2 separate regions of the Homo sapiens genome follow, and region 2 is linked to region 1. The links are contacts of gene promoters, found by promoter capture Hi-C in human tissues and cell types (Jung and others, 2019). All regions are on one chromosome and are shown on one strand. Each heading gives the region's core, a stretch centred on a gene start or on the middle of the fragment in contact. The rest is flanking DNA. Distances are from core to core; before and after follow the strand shown. Region 1 overlaps ZNF791 (zinc finger protein 791). Region 2 holds the start of FARSA (phenylalanyl-tRNA synthetase subunit alpha).

What was found. Contacts are between HindIII fragments. The study calls those that stand out against the background at their distance.
Region 2: the fragment with the promoter of FARSA here is called in contact with a fragment that was not itself captured in region 1 in 1 of the 25 tissues and cell types used here (spleen).

What each region holds. Positions count from the first base shown.
Region 1 is chr19:12,627,610-12,634,033 of GRCh38, forward strand. It overlaps ZNF791 (zinc finger protein 791), which reads left to right. Exons shown (of 4, transcript NM_153358.3): 4 at 112-6,225. The coding sequence ends at 1,651. LOC105372279 (a long non-coding RNA gene) reads right to left here. Exons shown (of 4, transcript XR_007067142.1): 4 at 5,530-6,424. Among named protein-coding and RNA genes, the nearest start is that of ZNF791, 20 kb to the left of the region's middle. The HindIII fragment of the contact is 6,065 bases long and covers 1-5,531 here.
Region 2 is chr19:12,929,964-12,936,387 of GRCh38, forward strand. It overlaps FARSA (phenylalanyl-tRNA synthetase subunit alpha), which reads right to left and starts at 3,748. Exons shown (of 13, transcript NM_004461.3): 1 at 3,587-3,748; 2 at 649-786; 3 at 466-564; 4 at 260-378. The coding sequence starts at 3,733. FARSA-AS1 (FARSA antisense RNA 1) reads left to right here and starts at 559. Exons shown (of 3, transcript NR_149078.1): 1 at 559-583; 2 at 3,007-3,074; 3 at 3,186-3,333. RefSeq lists enhancers at 3,351-3,420, 3,431-3,930, 3,652-3,946 and a silencer at 4,983-5,088. The HindIII fragment of the contact is 13,322 bases long and covers 1-6,424 here.

The DNA.
Region 1 (6,424 bases), core at 1,249-3,748:
GAACAAGACTCCGTCTCAAAAAAGAAAAAAGAACTTTAGTTCTACTACCCGATAATACATATAAAATCATTAATACACAACCAGTATTACCGTGCTTCTAATTTTTTACAGAAGCCATACGGGAGAGAGACTCTGTGAAGGTAAAGAAGGTAGTCAATGTGCAGAAAACTTCAGTCCCAATCTCAGTGTGACGAAGAAGACTGCCGGAGTAAAACCATATGAGTGTACTATCTGTGGAAAAGCCTTCATGCGTCTCTCATCCCTTACTAGACACATGAGGTCTCACACTGGATACGAGCTATTTGAGAAGCCATATAAATGTAAGGAGTGTGAGAAAGCCTTTAGTTATCTCAAATCCTTTCAAAGACATGAAAGGAGTCACACTGGAGAAAAACCCTATAAATGTAAACAATGTGGAAAAACCTTCATATATCACCAGCCCTTTCAAAGACATGAGCGGACTCACATTGGAGAAAAACCCTATGAATGTAAGCAATGTGGAAAAGCTCTTAGTTGTTCCAGTTCGCTTCGAGTTCATGAAAGGATTCACACTGGAGAAAAGCCCTATGAATGTAAACAATGTGGGAAAGCCTTCAGTTGTTCCAGTTCTATTCGAGTACACGAAAGAACTCACACTGGAGAGAAACCCTATGCATGTAAGGAATGTGGGAAAGCCTTCATTTCCCACACAAGTGTTCTAACACACATGATAACACACAACGGAGATAGACCTTATAAATGCAAAGAATGTGGAAAGGCATTCATTTTTCCCAGTTTTTTACGAGTACATGAAAGAATTCACACTGGAGAGAAACCCTATAAATGTAAACAATGTGGTAAAGCCTTCAGATGTTCCACCTCCATTCAAATTCATGAAAGAATTCATACTGGAGAGAAGCCCTATAAATGTAAAGAATGTGGGAAATCTTTCAGTGCACGCCCAGCCTTTCGAGTACACGTGAGAGTGCATACTGGAGAGAAACCCTATAAGTGTAAAGAATGTGGGAAAGCCTTTAGTAGAATCAGTTACTTTCGAATACATGAAAGGACTCACACTGGAGAGAAACCCTACGAATGTAAAAAATGTGGGAAAACTTTCAATTATCCTCTAGATTTGAAAATCCACAAGAGAAATCACACTGGAGAAAAACCCTATGAGTGTAAGGAATGTGCAAAAACCTTCATTTCTCTTGAGAACTTTCGAAGACACATGATCACCCACACTGGAGACGGACCTTATAAATGTAGGGACTGTGGGAAGGTGTTCATTTTTCCTAGTGCGTTACGAACACATGAAAGAACTCACACTGGAGAGAAACCCTATGAATGTAAACAATGTGGAAAAGCCTTTAGTTGTTCTAGTTACATTCGGATACATAAAAGAACTCACACTGGGGAGAAACCTTATGAATGTAAGGAATGCGGGAAGGCCTTTATTTATCCCACAAGCTTTCAAGGACACATGAGAATGCATACTGGAGAGAAACCCTATAAATGTAAAGAATGTGGGAAGGCCTTTAGTCTTCACAGTTCCTTTCAAAGACATACAAGAATTCACAATTATGAGAAACCTCTTGAATGTAAGCAATGTGGAAAAGCCTTCAGTGTGTCCACATCCTTAAAAAAACATATGAGAATGCACAATCGATAGAAACTCTATAAATGTGAGAAATAGGAGAAAGTTTTCAATTCTAACAGATGCTTTCAAAGTTGTGAAAATTCCCACTGAAGAGAGAAATCCTGTCAATGTAAGTAATATAGAAAGCGAGATACAAGATGATTCATGTATAGTCAGGTACCACATAATCATGTTTCAGTCAGCAATGGACCATATAGGTTGGTAGCCCCATAAGATTATATAACACCTAAAACATTTCTATCAACCGCAATTTAGTAGCAGTAGTAACACCATAGTGCAGCACATTATTTAAGTGTTTATGGTGCTGGTGTAAACGTGCTGCACTTTCAGTTGTATAAAAGTACAAGACAGCGGCCGGGGACGGTGGCTCACGCCTGTAATCCCAGCACTTTGGGAGGCCAAGGCGGGCGGATCACGAGGCCAGGAGATCAAGACCATCCTGGCTAACACGGTAAAACCCCATCTCTACTAAAAATACAAACAATTAGCCGGGCGTGGTGGTGGGCGCCTGTAGTCCCAGCTACTTGGGAGGCTGAGGCAGGAGAATGGCATAAACCCAGGAGGCCGAGCTGACAGTGAGCTGAGATCCGGCCAACAGAGCGAGACTCTGTCTCAAAAAAAAAAAAAAAAAAAAAGTACAACACAGCTGGGCATGGTCACACCTGTGATCCCAACACTGGGAGACTAAGGCAGTAGGATTGCTTGATGCCAGGACTACTCTGGTCAACCTAGTGAGACCCTGTCTCTACAAAAAATAAAAACATTTTCTAAGTGTGGTAGCACACCCTGTAGTCCCATCTACATGGGAGGCTGAGGCAGGAGGATTGCCTGAGCCCAGGAGTTCAAGGCTACAGTGAACCAAGATCACGTGATGGCAGTCCAGCATGGGTGACAGTGAGACTGTATCAAAAAAAAAAAAAAAAAATTGGCTGGGCACAGTGGCTCATACCTGTAATCCCAGCACTTTGGGAGGCTGAGGTGGGAGAATCAGTTGAGGTCAGGAGTTCAAGACCAGCCTGGTCAACATGATGAAACCCTGTCTCCATTAGAAATACGAAAATTAGCTGGGCGTTCTGGTGTGCCTGTAGTCCCAGCTACTTGGGAGGCCAAAGCAGGAGAATCGCTTGAACCCGGGAGGTGGAGATTGCAGTGAGCTGAGATCTACCACTACACTCCAGCCTGGGTGACAGAGCGAGACTCCGTCTCGAAAAAAAAAAAATTACAGCACAGATGTGCAATATATACTTGATAATAAATGGCTAAGTTACTGGTTTATATATTTACAATCCTGTTTTAGAATGTATTCCTGTGTTTTTTTAACAGTAAGACAGTCTCAGGCAGGTCCTTAAGGAGATATTCCCGGAAAAACTTTGTTATGATAGGCGATGACGGCTCCATGTGCAGGACTGCCCCTGAACGTATTCTGGCGGGACAAAACATGGAGGCAGAAGACAATGATATTGATGATCCTCACCCCGTGTAGTCCTACACTAATGTGTGTTTGTGTCTTAGTTAGTCTTTAACAAAAATAGTTTAAAAAAATTTAATAGAAAAAGCTTATAGAATATGGACATAAAATATTTTTGTACAGCTGTACAATGTGTTTTAAGCTAAATTATTACAAAGTTTTTAAAAATAAGTTTATAAAGAAAATAATGTACAGTAAGTTAAGGTTTATTCATTATTGAGGAAAAAATGTTTTTATGAATGTAGTGTAGTCCAAGTGTACAGTGTTTATAAATTCTCCATTAGTGTACAGTAACATCCTGGGCCTTCGCATTCACTCACCACTCAACTGACTCACCCAGAGCAACTTCTAGTCCTGCAAGCTATGTTCATGGAGTGTCCTATGCAGGTGCATCCTTTTTTATCTTTTATACTGCATGTTTACTCTGTGTATTTTCTGTGTTTAGACTCATAAATACTTAACATTTTGTTACAATTTCCTACAGTGTTCAGTACAACAACATGTTGTATGGTTTATAGCCTAGTAGCAATAGACTGTACCATATAGTCTAGATGTGTTGTAGCTATACCATCTAGATTTGTGTAAGTTCACTTTGTGATGTTTGTACCATGAGGAAATCACCTACAACACGTTTCTCAGAACATATACCCATGATTAAGCAATCTCTGCCTGTAAAATGCTCCAGAAAATTCACACCATGATATAAATTCATCACACACGATATAAAAGTTAAGGCAAGGCATGGTGGCTCATGCCTGTAATCCCAGCACTTTGGGAGGCCAAGGCAGGCAGATCACCTGAGGTCAGGAGTTCGAGACCAGCCTGGCCAAGACGGTGAAACCCCATCTCTACTAAAAATACAAAAATTACCTGAGCGTGGTGGCATGCACCTGTAATTCCAGCTACTTGGGAGGCTGAAGCAGGAGAATCATTTGAACCTGGGAGGTGGAGGCTGCAGTGAGCTGAGATTGTGCCACTACACTCCAGCCTGGGCAACAGAGCAAGACTCCATCCCACACACCAAAAAAAAGTTAAAAATTTTTTATCACTGGCTCATTCTTCAAGTACATCTCTGGACTATGAATTGTAACTTAACTACTTTTCCAAGAAGTCTTGGAAGTGAGATAATTCTGTAAGTACTCTTTAAGCAGTGGTCAAAAGTTTAAAAGGTTGTGTTTTCTCATTAAATCAGTTAGTAAAACTTTTCTCTTTCTCTTGATGTCTTGATTCATGAGTAAACTGAAGTGTATTTTTTTTTTTTCGAGACGGAGTCTTGCTCTGTTGCCCAGGCTGGAGTTCAGCGGTGTGATCTCGGCTCACTGCAAGCTCCGCCTCCCGGGTCCACGCCATTCTCCTGCCTCAGCCTCCCCAGTAGCTGGGACTGCAGGCGCCCGCCACCATGCCCAGCTAATTTTTTTTGTATTTTTAGTAGAGATGGGGTTTCACCGTGTTAAGCCAGGATGGTCTCAATCTCCTGACCTCGTGATTCGACCGCCTCAGCCTCCCAAAGTGCTGGGATTACAAGCTTGAGCCACCGCACCCGGCCTGAAGTGTATTTTTTTTTTCTTTTAAAGACCAGTGTTAGTAGAAGTGTATTTTTAATATACAATTAGTTTTAATTTGTGTATAGTTTTTCAGTTGTTCTCTGAATAAAGAGATTGTTGAATACTGACACACTGTAACTAGGATTTTTCCTACTGGCCTCATGTGGAAGGTGGTGCATATATTACCCATTATATATTTATTTCACCTTTTCCGAAAAACTGCTTTTTAAATTTCTTGGCCAGACACGGTGGCTCACTCCTTTGTAATTCCAGCACTTTGGGAAACCAAGGCAAGCAGATCACTTGAGGTCAGGAGTTCGAGACCAACCTGGCCAACATGGTGAAATCCCATCTCTACTAAAAATACAAAAATTAGCTGGGCATGTTGGAGGGCACCTGTAATCTCAGCTACTTGGGAGGCTGAGGCAGGAGAAATGCTTGAACCTGGAAGTCAGAGGTTGCAGTGAGCCAAGATCACACCACTGCACTCCAGCCTGGACAACAGAACGAGACTCCATATCAAAAAAATTAAATTAAAATATAATAAATTTCTTGCCGGGCGCAGTGGCTCACACCTGTAATCCCAGCACTTTGGGAGGCCGAGGTGGGCGGATCACGAAGTCAGGAGATTGAGACCATCCTGGCTAATACAGTGAAACCCCGTCTCTACTATAAATACAAAAAATTAGCTGGGCATGGTGGCGGGCGTCTGTAGTCCCAGCTACTCAGGAGTCTGAGGCAGGAGAATGGTGTGAACCCGGGAGGCGGAGCTTGCAGTGAGCCGAGATCGTGCCACTGCAATCCAGCCTGGGCAGCAGAACGAGACTCCATCTCAAATAAATAAATAAATAAAATGAATTTCAGCTAGAAGAGCCTTATTCCATTTTCCTTTTTATTAAACATCTGGCATAAGTTGGTAAGTATGTGAAGTTTATCATATATTCTTATGCGAATTATTATTTTCGCCTTTTTTTTATAATTCTGTCTGGGATTTGAATAGTAGAGTTTGAATTCAGGAAGGACACCTGTGATAGGACAATAAAATCTAGAGCTGGACGTGGCCCTCCTGCTACCTGTCGACACAGGTAAATTTCCTAGAATCTGTTCCCTTTATAGATCCATGTTGAAATTCACTTATAGCCTCACTTGCATGAGATTTGCCAGGCAGAAGTGAAGAAGACATTAGTCAGGTATTGGAACCCCACCATACAGGGAGACAGCCTGCTTCCTGCTCATTTTCCTGGTTATTTTCTCTGCCAATCAAAAGTATCCTGAAAACACCCTGAGCTGCTTGACTTCCATTCTCAAAGAGATGTGTTGGTTTCCACAGTTGTCTCCACAAGCTCCGCATCAAAGATCCACGTACAGTTTGGATTTTCCTTCTAGCCTTCATGTGTGGCCCAAGCATCTATTTCAGACTGTCATGGTTGGCATTGTTCTCTGAGGTTCTGTCTTCCCTTTGTGTTTCTATGAGCTTTAATTTGTATGGTTCTTGTTCTGTTAATGCCACTAGGGACTATGTATTCCTGATTCCACCATGACAGCTACAGTAAAACAGTAAAAAAAAAAAAAAACAACTATATGGGAGTTTGTTCTCTTACTGCATTATACAGTGACTACTCTCCCCCATCCTTCCATTTGAGAATAATCACCTTCCTCATATCAGACAAATTGTGGGTGTTTCCAACTATTCCTGAATATTCTCCATCGGTTTATTTTCATTTATGTTTGGTTGTATGCAACTAAAATAATGCATTTTTTATTTATTTGAAG
Region 2 (6,424 bases), core at 2,498-4,997, 300 kb after region 1:
TGGCCTCTTTAAGGGGACACAGGAGAGAGACTTGATGAGGAGCCTATCTTGAAGATCAGAGGGAAAACAGTTCTCAGCAGAAGGGTCCTCATGGGCAAAGACCCCAAGGCACGTAGGCTTGACAACTATGGCATTAAGCGAGCTGGGAGGAAACTGGCCACACCTGTGCTTGGTGTGGGCAAGATGTCTCCCTCCCACCATGCCTCCACCATGCTTCGCAGGTGGTGGGGGCCTGAGCCTGCAGGGGGCACCCACTCACACTTCAGCCAACAGCTTCCTCTTCCTCAGCTCGCTCCTCTCCTTCTCCCCCAGCTTCTCAGCCTGTCCCCCCCGGACCAGCTGGAGCCGCCGCTGCACCTCATCCTCCATGCTGTCCACCTGCCAGGATAAGGAGTGTGAGGGGTATGAGGGCCAGGGGCCCATGTGCCCGTCCACCTGCCCCCTGACCAGCCCGCAGGAACGCACCACTCGGAACACCCGGGGCCCGTCAGCCGCACTCTTGTCCACCCGAATCCACTTGTTGGACATGGCCTTGCTGAAGCCCACTTTGCCACTGGGCAGTCGCTGGAAAAGAGAGGCTGCAGTGAGTGGGGCACGAGGGCCACCTTCATCCCATCACTCACTCCCCATTCACCCCGCAGCTCCTACCATAAGCTCGCTCTGGGCCAGGCCCTCTGGGGGAATGCTTCGAAACACACGGGCCTCATGGCTGCCCTCCCGGGCAATCTCCTCGCCCTCCGCAGTAAGCTCCCAGTGCTTGGTGGACCGAAGTTCAGCCTCGATGACCTAGAGGGAAATGTGGGGAGGGTGTCCAGGCAGGGGTGAGGCTCAGAGCCAGGCACCCCCTTTCTGCAGCGCTGGGTCCCAGGTTGAAAGCACAGCCCTTAAAGCTAGGTTCACATCCCAGCTATACAACTTTACAGCCAAGTGGTCTCAAGGGAAAGACTTCCCCTTGCTGTGTCTCCATTTCCCTTATGTAACACAGGGGTAGTAATAATGATAGTTTACACCTCCCAGGGTAAAGTACACCACTAAAGATGTTACCTGGCAGAAGACAAATTCTGTCGGTTTTGAACCTGTGACAGATTTTAATGTGAAAAATTAGGTGAACTGATATGTCTCCACATTTTTTTGTTTGTTTTTGTTTTCTTTGAAAGGGGGTCTCACCCTGTCACTAGGCTGGGTGCAGTGGTGTGATCATAGCTCACTGCAGCCTAGACCTCCTGGGCTCAAGCGATCCTTCCGCCAGTCCCGAGTAGCTGGGACTACAGGCATGTGCCGCCACACCTGGTTAATTTTTAAATTACTTTTTTTTTTTGAGACGGAGTCTTGCACTGTCGCTCAGGCTAGAGTGCAATGGTGCGATCTCGGTTCACTGCAACCTCTGCCTCCCGGGTTCAAATGATTCTCCTGCCTCAGCCTCCCGAGTAGCTCGGATTACAGGTGCCCACCACCACCCCCAGCTAATTTTTGTATTTTTAGTAGAGATGGGGTTTCACCATGTTGGCCAGGCTGGTCTCAAACTCCTGACCTCGTAATCGGCCGACTCCGCCTCCCAAAGTGCTAGGATTACAGGCGTGAGCCGCCGTGCCCGGCCCTTTAAATTACTTTTTAAAGACAGGGTGTTGTTATGTTGTCCAGGCTGGTCTCAAACTCCTGGCCTCAAGTGATTCTCCTTCCTCAGCCTCCCAAAGTGCTGGCATAATGGGCATGAGCCACCATACCCAGCCTGTCTCCATGTTTAAATGTTCACATGTCAGTGCCCAGAATGTCAGAGACGGGCCCTGGAGGTCCACATTACAAACAAAAACTGAGGTTCCAGGTCCAGAGTCATGAAGACAAGGACAACAAGGGTAAGTAGAGTGCACAGGGCCTGGCTCCCACTTCATTCTAATCCCAACTCTGCCCTTCACTTACTGTGTGACCTCAGGAAAGTTGCTTAACCTCTCAGTGACTCTTCTCATCCATAAGAGAAAGGTGTGATGGGTTCTACCTCAGATGATTTTAAGGAGTAGCTAAATTAATACTCAGAAAGAATATATAGTGCCTACCACGTGACAAACACTGCATAAATTTTTTTTTTTTTTTTTTTTGAGACGGAGTCTCGCTCTGTCGCCCAGGCTGGAGTGCGATCTCGGCTCACTGCAACCTCCACCTCCCGATTCAAACAATTCTCTGCCTCAGCCTCCCAAGTAGCTGGGATTACGGGTGCCCACCAACACGCCTGGCTAATTTTTTTTTGTATTTTTAGTAGAGACAGGGTTTCATCATCTTGGCCAGGCTGGTCTTGAACTCCTGACCTCGTGATCCACCCGCCTTGGTCTCCCAAAGTGCTGGGATTACAGGTGTGACCACTGCACCCGGCATAAATTCTAATTACTATAATTATTTTTATGGCTATTACTGTCATTAGATTGAACCTCACCTCCTTATATTATTTAACCCTCTGTGACGTATACAAATGTCAGATCATATTGGTCAAGGCACTGTCACCCCACACAACACAGCTGCCATCTCTCCTCTGCATTGAGGACTATGGGCTCTGCAGCCTGAGTGCCTAATTTCAAATCTGGGCTCATCGGCCTCTTCTATTCACACTGATTATGTTACTGACCATCAGTTGTCACATCTGCAAAATGGGAATAACATGGCCATCAGCCAGGATTATGGAATGGATTGGACAAACAAGCTGAGACCAAAGTGGGGCACAGAACATGAGCTCTACGGATAAACAGCCCAGATCCTGGCCCCATGGATCTAGCCTTCTGGGTGGCCCACGGGCCCCTCAGCATCCTACGCCTGTGACTCTGTCACTGTCCACTTGCCCAAGTCAGAAGGCTGGACTTCATCTGTGCGCCCCCTGCCTTGTCCTGAATCCCACGCCTTCCCCACCTCCCCCAAGCTTCCTTCCCATAGCCAGACATCATGCCCTCCAGCTTGGGGAAGTGCCAGCTTCTTCTTTCATCCCTTCACCTCCAGTCCTGTCCATGCCAATTCTTCCCAAAGGTGATGTGGATAGCACACTCATCTGACCGGCTCTAGCTCCTGCTATCGCTTCCCAGTTCCCTCATGAGGTAAAGACCTAAGAGGCTTTGCAATTACAGCTATGCTGGTCTCCCTTGCCGCCTGCCATCCCCCAAGATCCCGGCCACTGATCTCTAAAGTGCTATCACTTTCCTCAACAGAGAACAGACTCAGCCGTCACCTGCACCAGGCCGCTCTCCCTGACCCCCAAGGCTGGGTCAGCTGTCACAGCTGGGTCCCCTGTTTTCCCCCATCACTCTGGTTCTTGAAGCACCTTCCTATTACGTCGCAACCTGCGTGAGGGCAGCAACCGCGACTTCCTCGTCCATCATCGTACCCTCTACCCACGCTGACCGTGCCTCAATAAACGTTTATTGCATGAGGAACATCCGTGCGTCTGGGCCCTCACTCGTCCCACTTCCCGCCCGCACATCCCGGAGTGGACACATATACAGCTACCCCAAACTAGGCCTGAGGGAATTTGGCTTGGACGTAGAGCGCCCGTGGCAAGGGGACTGTAGGTGCAAGGGCAAGGCGGTCCGGCATCACGGGCCCGGCTCACCTCGCCCAGCGCCTGAAGGCTCTTCACGGCGCCCACCACCGCCTGGTGCTCCATGCCCAGCTCAGCCGCCAACTCGGCGCTGTCCAGGCCGCCATCAGACGCCTCCAGCCGCCGGAGCAGCAGTTCCGCCACCTGACCATCCGCCATGACTCCTTCCAGTGTGCTCAGCGTGTCCGGGCCCGGGTGGGCGGGGGGAGCTGAGCCACCGGAACCGGAACCGGAGTGTGTACCGCCATCTTGAATGTGTCTAACTGTAGAACAGGGCTCAATGTGTCGTCATCTTGAGTGTGGCGACGGAGCCGCAAAAGGTGCATGGGACTCAGTTCCCACCTCCACCCTGGCTCCATCAATGGCGTCTGGTTGACCAGAGGGGTAAAATTGATTATCTCAAGGTCAGAAGCACCGCCCTGTTTTGAGTTTTATCTAGCCTCACTTCGAGCGGGCTGTGTGACCTTGGACTTCCCCGTCTCTGGGTTACAGAACCCTCTGCCCTTCTGGTATTCTCTCTTGCCCTAGGAGAGGCGGTGGGTGGTGGGCTCCAGAGATGGTCATTTTGGCGATGTCAGCTACTTTTAAAATTTCAAAGGAAGGCTGGGTAGGTACCGTCCCTTTTTATAGAGGGAAAAGGAATTCACCTAGTAAGTCAAGGTGGCACCTAACCTGTGTGGACTACCTCGTATGTGGTAGTACTTAGCCCAGAACTGAGTACTTCACGTGTAGTATTTCATTTATCCCCAAAACTTTATGATGTAGATACTGATATAACCGCATTACACATGTGAGAAAACTGAGGCTCAGAGGGTGGTATGACTTGCCCAAGGTTCTACAGAGAGTTGGTGGAAATGAAGTCATAAATTATAAACCTTCCAGATCCTCCCACCCCTGTGCGCTGAGAGTAACGTCAGTGCAAATACTGCATGGCCTAGATTAGCACTGTCCTATAGAAACACAGTGCAAAACATCTTTCTTTTTTGAGACAGGGTCTTGCTCTGTCACCCATGCTGGAGTGCAGTGGTGCAATTATGGCTTACTGCAGCCTTGACTTCCCAGGCTCTAAGGATCCTCCAACCTTAGGCTCCTGAGTAGCTGGAACTGCAGGTGCGCGCCACCACACCCAGCTTTTTTTTTTTTTTTAAGTATGGGTTTTGGCCATGTTGCCCAGGCTGGTCTCAAACTCCTAGGCTCAGGTTATCCTCCTGCATCGGTCTCCCAAAATGCTGGCATTAGAGGCATGACCCACCTCGCCCAGCCAGCCAGACCCTGACTCTTACAAAAAAAAAGATGACTAATAAAATATTTTGCACTCGGCCGGGCACAGTGGCTCACCTCTGTAATCCCAGCACTTTGGGAGGCCGAGGCGGGTGGATCACCTGAGGTCGGGAGTTTGAGACCAGCCTGACCAACATGGAGAAACCCCGTCTCTACTAAAAATACAAAATTAGCAGGGCGTGGTGGCGCATGCCTGTAATCTCAGCTACTTGGGAGGCTGAGGCAGGAGAGTCGCTTGAACCTGGGAGGCAGAGGTTGTGGTGAGCCGAGATCGTGTCATTGCACTCCAGCCTGGGTGACAAGGCGAAACTCCGTCTCAAAAAAAAAAAAATTGCACTTTTTTTCATACTAAATCTTCAAAATCTGATGCGTATTTTACACTTACAACACATCTCAGTTCGGACCAACCACATTTCAAATGGTCAGTAATCACATGTGGGCAGTGGTGACTTACGTCAGCACAGGTAGATTAGAATCCTAGATCTGCTGGCCAGGCTCAGTAATCCCAGCACTTTGGGAGGCTGAGGCGGGTGAATCACCTGAGGTCAGGAGTTCAAGACCAGCTTGGCCAAGATGGCGAAACCCCATCTCCTCTAAAAACACAAAAATTAGCTGGGTGCAGTGGGGGTGCCTGTAATCCCAGCTACACGGGAAGCTGAGGCAGGAGAATCACTTGAGCCTGGTAGGTGGAGCTTGCAGTGAGCAGAGATCGCACCACTGCACTCCAGCCTCGGTGACAGAGCAAGGCTCTGTCTCAAAAAAAAAAAAAAAAAAAAAAAAGAATCCTAGATCTGTTATTTATGTCATTCAACCAGAAGGTGTAGTCTTTCTGTGCCTCAGTTTCTTGCTCACATGGAGGTGATTGGAGCCCAGGTTACTGTGAGAATTAAATGCCCACACATATTCACACTGCTTACTAAATTGAGTGTGGCCCATGTTCGAACACTCTTATAAGCAGAACACATTTATTCCTTTTACATCACAATTATTATTTGAGTCTGTAAAATGGGATTACTCATATCCCCAAATCCTGACCCTATATGAGGTTCTGTATTAAGGATACATTTCTCAAAGTCCCTTCTCTCCTCCCATTTTATGTTGATTATTTATTTATTTATTTAGGGAGTGGGTCTCACTCTATTGCCCAGGCTGGAGTGCAGTGGCATGATCTTGGCTGACTGCAGCCTCCACCTCCTGGGCTCAAGCAATCCTCTCACCTCAGCCTCCCGAGTAGTTGGGACTACAGGTGTGTACCAGCAGGCCAGGCTAATTTGTGTTATGTATATTATATATTATATGCTATATATAATATACATACTATTCATATATTTATGCATTATATGTCATATATAATATATTACATATGTGTACATATATATATTTTGTAAGAATGAGGTTCCACCATGTTGCCCAGGCTGGTTTTGAACTGCCGGGCTCAAACAATCTGCCTGCCTCAGGTTCCCAAGGTGCTAGGATTATAAGTGTGAACTACCATGTCCGGCTTATTTTTATTTATTTTTGAGACAGGGTCTTGCTCTGTAACCCAGGCTAGAGTGTGCAGTGGCAACA